Linked DNA regions of Homo sapiens: region 2 is linked to region 1. The links are contacts of gene promoters, found by promoter capture Hi-C in human tissues and cell types (Jung and others, 2019). All regions are on one chromosome and are shown on one strand. The core of a region is centred on a gene start or on the middle of the fragment in contact, and the rest is flanking DNA. Distances in the headings are between cores, read along the strand shown. Region 1 holds the start of MYOC (myocilin). Region 2 overlaps DNM3 (dynamin 3).

Region 1 (6,261 bases), core at 2,164-4,663:
ACCCCAGAGACTCCTTGAAGCCCCCGGCAGAGGTTTCCTCTCCAGCTGGGGGAGCCCTGCAAGCACCCGGGGTCCTGGGTGTCCTGAGCAACCTGCCAGCCCGTGCCACTGGTTGTTTTGTTATCACTCTCTAGGGACCTGTTGCTTTCTATTTCTGTGTGACTCGTTCATTCATCCAGGCATTCATTGACAATTTATTGAGTACTTATATCTGCCAGACACCAGAGACAAAATGGTGAGCAAAGCAGTCACTGCCCTACCTTCGTGGAGGTGACAGTTTCTCATGGAAGACGTGCAGAAGAAAATTAATAGCCAGCCAACTTAAACCCAGTGCTGAAAGAAAGGAAATAAACACCATCTTGAAGAATTGTGCGCAGCATCCCTTAACAAGGCCACCTCCCTAGCGCCCCCTGCTGCCTCCATCGTGCCCGGAGGCCCCCAAGCCCGAGTCTTCCAAGCCTCCTCCTCCATCAGTCACAGCGCTGCAGCTGGCCTGCCTCGCTTCCCGTGAATCGTCCTGGTGCATCTGAGCTGGAGACTCCTTGGCTCCAGGCTCCAGAAAGGAAATGGAGAGGGAAACTAGTCTAACGGAGAATCTGGAGGGGACAGTGTTTCCTCAGAGGGAAAGGGGCCTCCACGTCCAGGAGAATTCCAGGAGGTGGGGACTGCAGGGAGTGGGGACGCTGGGGCTGAGCGGGTGCTGAAAGGCAGGAAGGTGAAAAGGGCAAGGCTGAAGCTGCCCAGATGTTCAGTGTTGTTCACGGGGCTGGGAGTTTTCCGTTGCTTCCTGTGAGCCTTTTTATCTTTTCTCTGCTTGGAGGAGAAGAAGTCTATTTCATGAAGGGATGCAGTTTCATAAAGTCAGCTGTTAAAATTCCAGGGTGTGCATGGGTTTTCCTTCACGAAGGCCTTTATTTAATGGGAATATAGGAAGCGAGCTCATTTCCTAGGCCGTTAATTCACGGAAGAAGTGACTGGAGTCTTTTCTTTCATGTCTTCTGGGCAACTACTCAGCCCTGTGGTGGACTTGGCTTATGCAAGACGGTCGAAAACCTTGGAATCAGGAGACTCGGTTTTCTTTCTGGTTCTGCCATTGGTTGGCTGTGCGACCGTGGGCAAGTGTCTCTCCTTCCCTGGGCCATAGTCTTCTCTGCTATAAAGACCCTTGCAGCTCTCGTGTTCTGTGAACACTTCCCTGTGATTCTCTGTGAGGGGGGATGTTGAGAGGGGAAGGAGGCAGAGCTGGAGCAGCTGAGCCACAGGGGAGGTGGAGGGGGACAGGAAGGCAGGCAGAAGCTGGGTGCTCCATCAGTCCTCACTGATCACGTCAGACTCCAGGACCGAGAGCCACAATGCTTCAGGAAAGCTCAATGAACCCAACAGCCACATTTTCCTTCCCTAAGCATAGACAATGGCATTTGCCAATAACCAAAAAGAATGCAGAGACTAACTGGTGGTAGCTTTTGCCTGGCATTCAAAAACTGGGCCAGAGCAAGTGGAAAATGCCAGAGATTGTTAAACTTTTCACCCTGACCAGCACCCCACGCAGCTCAGCAGTGACTGCTGACAGCACGGAGTGACCTGCAGCGCAGGGGAGGAGAAGAAAAAGAGAGGGATAGTGTATGAGCAAGAAAGACAGATTCATTCAAGGGCAGTGGGAATTGACCACAGGGATTATAGTCCACGTGATCCTGGGTTCTAGGAGGCAGGGCTATATTGTGGGGGGAAAAAATCAGTTCAAGGGAAGTCGGGAGACCTGATTTCTAATACTATATTTTTCCTTTACAAGCTGAGTAATTCTGAGCAAGTCACAAGGTAGTAACTGAGGCTGTAAGATTACTTAGTTTCTCCTTATTAGGAACTCTTTTTCTCTGTGGAGTTAGCAGCACAAGGGCAATCCCGTTTCTTTTAACAGGAAGAAAACATTCCTAAGAGTAAAGCCAAACAGATTCAAGCCTAGGTCTTGCTGACTATATGATTGGTTTTTTGAAAAATCATTTCAGCGATGTTTACTATCTGATTCAGAAAATGAGACTAGTACCCTTTGGTCAGCTGTAAACAAACACCCATTTGTAAATGTCTCAAGTTCAGGCTTAACTGCAGAACCAATCAAATAAGAATAGAATCTTTAGAGCAAACTGTGTTTCTCCACTCTGGAGGTGAGTCTGCCAGGGCAGTTTGGAAATATTTACTTCACAAGTATTGACACTGTTGTTGGTATTAACAACATAAAGTTGCTCAAAGGCAATCATTATTTCAAGTGGCTTAAAGTTACTTCTGACAGTTTTGGTATATTTATTGGCTATTGCCATTTGCTTTTTGTTTTTTCTCTTTGGGTTTATTAATGTAAAGCAGGGATTATTAACCTACAGTCCAGAAAGCCTGTGAATTTGAATGAGGAAAAAATTACATTTTTGTTTTTACCACCTTCTAACTAAATTTAACATTTTATTCCATTGCGAATAGAGCCATAAACTCAAAGTGGTAATAACAGTACCTGTGATTTTGTCATTACCAATAGAAATCACAGACATTTTATACTATATTACAGTTGTTGCAGATACGTTGTAAGTGAAATATTTATACTCAAAACTACTTTGAAATTAGACCTCCTGCTGGATCTTGTTTTTAACATATTAATAAAACATGTTTAAAATTTTGATATTTTGATAATCATATTTCATTATCATTTGTTTCCTTTGTAATCTATATTTTATATATTTGAAAACATCTTTCTGAGAAGAGTTCCCCAGATTTCACCAATGAGGTTCTTGGCATGCACACACACAGAGTAAGAACTGATTTAGAGGCTAACATTGACATTGGTGCCTGAGATGCAAGACTGAAATTAGAAAGTTCTCCCAAAGATACACAGTTGTTTTAAAGCTAGGGGTGAGGGGGGAAATCTGCCGCTTCTATAGGAATGCTCTCCCTGGAGCCTGGTAGGGTGCTGTCCTTGTGTTCTGGCTGGCTGTTATTTTTCTCTGTCCCTGCTACGTCTTAAAGGACTTGTTTGGATCTCCAGTTCCTAGCATAGTGCCTGGCACAGTGCAGGTTCTCAATGAGTTTGCAGAGTGAATGGAAATATAAACTAGAAATATATCCTTGTTGAAATCAGCACACCAGTAGTCCTGGTGTAAGTGTGTGTACGTGTGTGTGTGTGTGTGTGTGTGTGTAAAACCAGGTGGAGATATAGGAACTATTATTGGGGTATGGGTGCATAAATTGGGATGTTCTTTTTAAAAAGAAACTCCAAACAGACTTCTGGAAGGTTATTTTCTAAGAATCTTGCTGGCAGCGTGAAGGCAACCCCCCTGTGCACAGCCCCACCCAGCCTCACGTGGCCACCTCTGTCTTCCCCCATGAAGGGCTGGCTCCCCAGTATATATAAACCTCTCTGGAGCTCGGGCATGAGCCAGCAAGGCCACCCATCCAGGCACCTCTCAGCACAGCAGAGCTTTCCAGAGGAAGCCTCACCAAGCCTCTGCAATGAGGTTCTTCTGTGCACGTTGCTGCAGCTTTGGGCCTGAGATGCCAGCTGTCCAGCTGCTGCTTCTGGCCTGCCTGGTGTGGGATGTGGGGGCCAGGACAGCTCAGCTCAGGAAGGCCAATGACCAGAGTGGCCGATGCCAGTATACCTTCAGTGTGGCCAGTCCCAATGAATCCAGCTGCCCAGAGCAGAGCCAGGCCATGTCAGTCATCCATAACTTACAGAGAGACAGCAGCACCCAACGCTTAGACCTGGAGGCCACCAAAGCTCGACTCAGCTCCCTGGAGAGCCTCCTCCACCAATTGACCTTGGACCAGGCTGCCAGGCCCCAGGAGACCCAGGAGGGGCTGCAGAGGGAGCTGGGCACCCTGAGGCGGGAGCGGGACCAGCTGGAAACCCAAACCAGAGAGTTGGAGACTGCCTACAGCAACCTCCTCCGAGACAAGTCAGTTCTGGAGGAAGAGAAGAAGCGACTAAGGCAAGAAAATGAGAATCTGGCCAGGAGGTTGGAAAGCAGCAGCCAGGAGGTAGCAAGGCTGAGAAGGGGCCAGTGTCCCCAGACCCGAGACACTGCTCGGGCTGTGCCACCAGGCTCCAGAGAAGGTAAGAATGCAGAGTGGGGGGACTCTGAGTTCAGCAGGTGATATGGCTCGTAGTGACCTGCTACAGGCGCTCCAGGCCTCCCTGCCTGCCCTTTCTCCTAGAGACTGCACAGCTAGCACAAGACAGATGAATTAAGGAAAGCACAGCGATCACCTTCAAGTATTACTAGTAATTTAGCTCCTGAGAGCTTCATTTAGATTAGTGGTTCAGAGTTCTTGTGCCCCTCCATGTCAGTTTTCACAGTCCATAGCAAAAGGAGAAATAAAAGGACCGGGTGAGATGTGTCTGCATATGAGCAGTAGAAAGTTGTCAATTGTCCCTTTTGAAAAACTATCCTTTTTTGAACCTTTGCTCAGATTGTTATTTGTACCTTTTGATGTTAAAATGACCTTTATTTATGAAATTACAATAGATTTGGGAAATGATAATAAGTGGTAAGTTTTTGTTTATTTTTAAATGTTCTTCCCTGGCAAAATAAAGAGATGGCACCTCTCTGTCAGTTTTCTTAATATGTTGTTCTGAAAGTTTTCTTACTCAGTCCAATCTGAGAACCTCTGCTTTTAAGTCATCAGACAAATTCTTGAGATGGCTTTTTCTGAGAGGCTCTTCTGTTCATCCTGGTCCCTTCTTGCCTAAAGGTGAGTCTGTGTGTGTGTGGGGGGGGTGCGGGGGTGAGGTGTTGGGGGAGGTCTTCTTATTAGCTGGGAAGATGGTATTTGTGTCACTTTTTGTGAAAGTGGGCTCCCAAATATTCCCTGTTGAGGAAGTGTTCTAATCATGAGGAAATAAGCAAGCAAATCCAGTTGTTGGACAATTAGTTTGGACTGGTCAAAGATGTCAGTGCCAAGGAAGAAAGAAAAAAGGGGTGGGGAAGGGCTTGTTCTATATTAAAGAGACTAAAGAAATGTGTTAACCAAATGTAGTGCATGAGTCTTGATTGGTGTCTTCATCCAAGGGGGAAAAAGGCTATGAGGAACAGGTTTGGGATAACTGAGGCAATTTGACTGCTCATTATTATGTTACTGTATTAATGTTCAGTTTCTTGGTGAGATAATGATACTGTGGTTGCGAAGGATAAAATCTTTGTTCTATGGAGATACATGCTTAAGTACCCAGGGTGAGGCGTCAGGATGTCTGCAATTTGCTCTCAAATGGTTGAAGAAAGACTGCAAATATATAGATAATGAGAGAAAGAAAGGTAAAACAACTGTGGCAAAATATTAATAACTGGTGAATTACAAACTGGTGAATCTAAGTATATGGGGAGCTTATTGTACTATTCTTTCAGTTTTTCTATAGGCTTGAAAAGCTTTAAAATTATGAGAAAATATTTCCTAAAAAGAGCCTTCTACGTGAAAGGCAAGCTCTTCATAGCTATGGGGTTAGAAAACCTAAGAGCCAGAGCCTGGGGATGACCTTGGGCAAGTTATTGAACCCTCTGCATCTTCATTTCTTGTCCATAACATAACAAAGAAAATTCCTGCTGTGAATAATTTTTGTGGGGTTCACATGAAATACCTATAAGATGTAAAGGATTTTTAAAAAATGTTTAGATTGTTAGAATTAGAAGAGATCCAATTCTGAATTTTACAACCAAGGAAAGTGAAGTCCTAAGATGCTAAGGGGCCAAGGTTGCCCAGCTGGTCAGTGGTAGAGCTTGAGACTTGAATCTGTGGAGACAATTGAAAGAATCATCATTACCAGAAGTGTGATGAGGCATTACTTATTTCAGACTGTTGAATGAAGTTACATTCTCAATAAAAACTCCTGCATGTGTGTATGTGGGTGTGGGTGGTGTGTGTGTGTGTGTACAAAAATAGTGGCAATGTTTTGCCTTTTTTTTTCTTTTGTGGTCATTTAACAAGTCTTTGGGGATTTATTAGATGTGTTTCCTAATTTTATATTTTTTCTTGATCTTTCCAGCTACTCCACTTTTGAAATAAGGGCAACATCCCATTATATTGAACACCAAACATGGAAGTTCTTTTCTAGTAGTAGATGTTTTTCATGAGCAGGAAATTACATTAGTACAAGAATGTGGAACTGGAAAGGGACCTAATGAGCATCCGGTACCGCTGGCTGATTTTTGCAGATATGGAAACTGAGGCCCAGAGAGGTTATTCAGCTTGTCCATGGCCATCTACCAGTTAGTGGCAAAGCTCGAATTC
Region 2 (6,261 bases), core at 2,486-4,985, 200 kb before region 1:
TTTTAAAAAATAAATAAATACAGACCAGGCACAGTGGTTCATGCCTGTAATGCCACCACTTTGGGAGGCCAAGGCAGGAGAAATACTTGAGCCCAGGAGTTCAAGACCAGCCTGGACAACATAGGGAGACCCTGTGTCTACAAAAAATAATTTAAAAATTAGCTGAGCATGGTGGTGCGGACTTGTGGTCTCAGCTACTCGGAAGGCTGAGGTGGGAGGATCTCATCAGCCAGGGATATCAAGGCTGCAGTGAGCAGTTTTCATGCCATTGCCCTCCAGCCTGGGTGACAGAGCTAGAGCCTGTCTCAAAAAAAAAAAGAATAAATACAGTTTACCTCTAAAACACCCTTAACCACAGCTGCTTCATGGAATTAGCCATTCCAGGAGAGAGTCCAGCTTCTTTACATCCATACAATGACAGGCATAATGATTTTTTGAAGGTCTAGACCCAGAGAGGTCTTAACTCTTTTATAAGTCTGTCATTTCTTATCTACCTACAGATAACCTATAGAAAACACACATTTTTTTAAAGCCAGGTTTCTCTCTGACATCCATCAAGCCAAATCGTAGACTGTTTAAAACAAACAAACAAACAAACAAACAAAAAACCTTCAAAGTCCTTTTGTTCAACCCCTCTCCTGACTACACCATGCCAAGCAGCCAGCAAGTCATCAATCGCCAGTCTCTACACTTATGGGGATGGAATACTTACTGTTTCACAGGCAATCCATTCCATTTTTTAAAGTGTTCTATTGAACAGTCTCCTCTACGTTAAGTTTAAGTCTATCTGCCTGTAACATTCACCCATTTGTTCTAATTATGTCTTCTGGGGAGATAACTGAGTCAGTCTAATCCTTTTCCAAGTAACAGCTCCTCAAATATTTAGAGACAGTATCATGAACTCACCAACTATTCTCTGACAAATGGCTCTCATAAGAATTGTTAGCCTGGGTATCCTGACAGTGCAGTGCATAGCAATCCTGTACCCACTGGATCACCAAGCTCTTTGAAGGAGCTGTTGCATACCAGAGCCTCACACAATTCCTGGCATATTGTGGACTCTCAACATATGATTCTTTGTAAATGACTCAGTAAATGGACAAATCCATCTGCTAAAAGAATTTTCAAACATGTCCTTTCTTAACTGGTTGTATCATCTACTTACAAACAAGTTTATTAAATTCTCTCTGTCCTCAAAACTCAAATAAATTTCATATAAAGAAAATATAAATTCAGAAGTAATCTGGAAGATAGGCAGGTAAATGAAACATCTTACTAAGAAACCTCAATAGGGGAAAGGGATTTATGTGGTATAAATATAATGTATTTTGGAATGTCTGAATTTGTATTACATGTACATATCACTTTTTCAATTAAAAGACAGCTTTTTTAAATTAATAAAGTTATTTCCATTTTAATTCATCCTAGTGGAATAGTAATGGTATAGTGTGAATTGTGTCTTCTCTAATAAAAAGATATGTCCTGCCATTTAAATAGAAAATAACCAAATAAATGACTAGAAGTAATATTAGATTTAATCTAGATCAGAGGCATTCAACAATTTTGAGGATAACCCATAGTAAGAAATACATTTTACATTGCAGCCTAGTATGCATATACAAATATGCAACTAATACAAAACTTTCACAAAGTGGTACTTATAACTACCTTGGATGTAGTCTGATACTTCGCTTAACACTGTCACACACCATCTACTAAACTGATATCATGGCCCACTATTAGGTCACAATCTACAGTTTAAAAAGCACTGTTCAGGTCGGGTGCAGTGGCTCACGCCTATAATCCCAGCATTTTGGGAGGCAGAGGCGGGCAAATCACCTGAGGTCAGGAGTTCAAGGCCAGCCTGGCCAACATAGCGAAACCCCGTCTCTACTAAAAATATGAAAATTAGCCAGGTGTGGTGGCGCACTCCTGTAGTCCCAGCTACTCAGGTGGCTGAGGCATGAGAATTGCTTGCACCTGGGAGGCAGAGGTTGCAGTGAGCTGAGATCATGCCACTCACTGCACTTCAGCCGGGACGACAGAGCGAGACTCTGTCTCAAAAAACAACAACCGTTCTAATCCAAGCCCACTCAACTATTCTCAACCAATTTATTGATGACAAAGGTATGTTTCAGCTTAGATAAATGGCTTGTACAGAGTCAAGTAGCTGATTCATTCAGTTAGCTCCTGCCATATGCCGGCACTGCACTACGGAAAATGATAAAGGAGACACAGCTCCTGGCTTCGTGGAAGCTGCAAATAGTTGAGCAGACAGAGGAGGCAACCAACTGTTCGGTAGATTCCTGTGCAGTGAAATATTAACAAGGGCCACCAAGGAGGGGCCTCTAAATCAGACAGATAGAGCTGAGAAGACCAGCAGATGACAGCAGAGGCCAGACTAAACCCAGCTCTCACTGTTCTTGGCATGCTACCTTGCTTACCTGTGGCACACTTTGAACAAATATGCAGGGACCACCTGCCACAGGGAGCAGGAGAGAACCAAAGCCACCCCAGACTAACTCATTCACAAATACTCCTAATTCTCACAGTGGTTGAACCTTACCAGTCTTTTCTCTTCGTATGTCCCTACAATCTGGTGGACACTCACAAAAGCATTGCTTCCTCCTTCTCATCTCCCCACTTACTCTGCAAGCAAGGAACTCATGATCCTTCTGCCACTTCCCTTCTTAACTTACTCTGAGGAAAAAAAAAAAAAAACAAAGCCCTAAGAGAATATGTAACTTTCAAAGTACATAATTCAAATCAAGTACCCACACATACACATTTTACATGATATGTTTTTAGGATTAAATAAACAGGCTAAAGTTTCTTAAGTTGAATTTACAAGGACTTCAGTATGCAGGTCGTTCTATCGGTATTTAGATGAGAATGCAGAAATCTCACCACACAATTGTTGCTGTCCTGGTAGTAGGACTCAGAACCATGAATGCTAGGATCTATAAAAATAATTGCAAGCCTTTGCCCCTCTTTTCAAAATATGAAGAGAATGGGTCTTAGTTTTATTAACCAGAAAACATAAACAGACACACATATACAGGGTTCTAAACCTCCACTAGATAAGAAACCCAAAGCTATTCTTTTCAAAGCTTCTGAGGTATATCTAGTAACTTAAAAATAATGTAATTCCAAACAGAACCAGCTGACTAGCTCAGAGCTAAAACTGATGGTTAACAAGTTATGGGAATGTCAATCAAATCAGAATATGAATCTTTCCACTGGAAAAAAGAGTGATTTGGTATTATTTCAACATCTACTACAAAAATGTTGGTACTTCTTTTAAGATCTAATTACACCTTACCTCCTGAACACTTGGTTGTAGATGGTTTCCTTGGGCTCAGACCATACTCTTGCTAAGTAGTCCTGCTTCGCCAACTAGACTTCCTCAATTGTTTTTCCCCCTTCTACACCATCTTTGCCTGCAATTTCATCTAACATTTCCAAAAGAAAAGGAATATGCTAAGAATGGTTTACTTTATATCACAGCATCAAATATCTTCCTTAAAATATATTCTCTAGGAGAAAACTAAAAATAATGTCAGAAAAATTCATTTTAATTCTATTATCTGTTATTAAGTCTATTTTGTTCATTAATTTCTAGTACTCACCATGTGACCCCAGTATGTCACCCAACTTTTTTCCAGCTTAATCTTTTTTATTTCTAAATTAAAGTAAACAAAACATGCTTTTGCTATCTTCTCACAGAAATTCGAAGGATTAATGAAATGATAAAAACTGCTTTGGAACTCTTGGAAGGGAAGAGTATACAAACTGGGTTCACTTTGTATATATTGGTTTAAAAAAAAAAGAACACATTGTGATAATGCATTTAACGAATGTGGGCAATGCTTTCTTTAAAGAAGGCTCAAATATATTCTATTAGCCTTATCTACAAGTAAGTATTTTGATGCAACTGTAATTTTCCAACATTCACGAAAAGAATTTGCAAATACGCATTACCATCTGCCTCAACTTACTTTTGTTTTTAAAACACTCAAAAAATGTCCAGTCTAAATAAAAGATTTAAATTAAGAGCAATCAGTTATTGAATGCATACTATGGACCAGGCACTTGATACCATCTTACTCAGAACTCACACACAGATTAAAAGGTGAAGTCTGCAATCCCTATTTTGCAGATGAAGGAACTGAGGCCAAGTGAGGCTAGATTCCGTAATGAGGAGCCATGCTACCAGTGAGAGTCAGAGGCAGGACTCAAGAGCTGCCAGCAAAGCCTGCACTCCATCACCATGCTGTGATGACTCCTCTTCAAATACTCACTTTTGAGAAATCTAAAAAAATAAGCACCATAAACAAGTTTAGTCACCCATCAAATTACTTATCAAATAGATTAGTCTTTCAATTCCAAGCCACTGGAAGGATAAACAATGAGGTCCTTCAGGATACCTAGCTACTGCTATCATGTATATATATGCTATTCATGGGTATATCATGACCTTGAAGCAGTGGGAAATAAAAATGACACACTGTCACAAAGAAGCACTGAGGTACATTTTAAACCCTTGGAAATAGAGGACTTGCAGCAGGGATATTAGAGAAAAACAAGATCTAAAGCAATCCTGTATCATTCATATAATTCCGGAATTAAATGTATCATCATTTTCCTCAACAACTGCTCTGTTTTTGTTATCAATTAACACTAAAGACAATGCAATATTAATGCTTGTTGAAAAATTGTTAAAATAATCTCTATAACATTAATGGACCTCAATGTCACTCAATGCACTCTAAGAATGCAAACACACACACAAAAAGAATAGAAAACAGGCAAACTGAAGGATGCAGATTTGCTACACAAATACATCTTTATTTTACCTAAAAGTTCACCCACTTGTTTAAATAATAACATTTCCATTTAGATTATTTATTTACATACAACTTTTCAGAAGCTCGTGTTGGTTTAAGCAAGGCCTATTGATGACCATCTCAGGCATATCTTTCTAGCTAATGCCCACCTGGTGGATAAATATTAATAATGTGTAAAAACATCCAATATCTTATTTAGTCTTTTCCTGGGCCCATCTGTTCCCTAAAAGTCACGCTTTACTCACGAGTATACTATTTCAGTCAAATTAACTTGCCTAAGTCTGAGAAAAATTCTGCTCCCTGTCTCCACTATTCTGTATGGGAAAAAAAAGGTAATAAAATGCAATGTCACTGCTGGTCAACTATCAAGAAGAGTAATGAAAGAGAGTATCACGGAAGAGAAAAAGGCTGGCCCAATGCAAAGGGATGGGAAAAGGAGGAGGCAGGGTGAGGGTTGGAGGGAGGTGCTCTAAAACAATAACAGGAGGAAGAGAAGATGATGAACTGGCACAGGCCTCCCAGTTCCTAACATTAAGTTCCAAACCTAGCTCTGATTTCTTCTGACCTTGGGCAAATCTCTGGTTTCTCTGTATCCTACTGTGCTCCAGGAAGTTAGAGAAAATCAAGCCAGAGAAAAGCTTCTTATAATAATGTCATCAAATGCCAGTCTTGCTACTATTAAAGGAAGAAAAGCTAAGCTACCTATGATCACACACACACACACACACACACACACACACACACAGAGAGAGAGAGAGAGAGTAATTAATATGGTATTAATGAACCCTCTAATTTGTTGGAAATGATTTTTAATTCATGAAATGCAAATCATTTAGTGTCAACTCCTTTACCCTCCTCCCATTCTAAACAATTCATTCCATTTTCAGGTTTGCCTTTAGGACATTTTCCCTGACATTTGTGTCTTTGACTTATTCTACTCCTTTAACTAAATGACTTATTCTTTAAAAGGAAAATAGAATTCACCTCCCTTAAGTATTAGTGCCTTGGAAGTCCTTATAAAATACTTGATCTGATCCATCCCACTCTCAATTAACCTTCACTGCATCCAGTTATATTTTTAATCTCTCCAATCTCTTTTTTTTTCCTTGCTGCTCTTCTCTAGGGCCCTCTCCAATATACAGTATCTCTTTGTGATAAAGTCACAGTCTAAATTCAATGCCTTGTTGTCAACTCAGAAACTGAGACACAGATCACCACCTTCCTGCTTTGACATAGATACTTCAGTACATGCAGGCTTGAGCTAAAATGATATGGGCTGCCAGATGACACTGGAAATGCATATATTGTCTACTTTCCACTTATATTCAGTTCAATTTCAGAACTGTAGTTTTTCAGGGATTTTTGTAAAAATAAATTGACATACTATAATTTTTTATCCTGATTAGTTTGCATT

What was found. Contacts are between HindIII fragments. The study calls those that stand out against the background at their distance.
Region 2: a contact is called between a fragment that was not itself captured here and the fragment with the promoter of MYOC in region 1, in 1 of the 25 tissues and cell types used here (heart right ventricle).

What each region holds. Positions count from the first base shown.
Region 1 is chr1:171,649,840-171,656,100 of GRCh38, reverse strand. MYOC (myocilin) reads left to right here and starts at 3,413. Exons shown (of 3, transcript NM_000261.2): 1 at 3,413-4,093. The coding sequence starts at 3,490. The HindIII fragment of the contact is 9,045 bases long and covers 1-6,103 here.
Region 2 is chr1:171,847,228-171,853,488 of GRCh38, reverse strand. The region is part of intron 1 of DNM3 (dynamin 3); the gene reads right to left. Among named protein-coding and RNA genes, the nearest start is that of DNM3, 8.9 kb to the right of the region's middle. The HindIII fragment of the contact is 4,362 bases long and covers 1,555-5,916 here.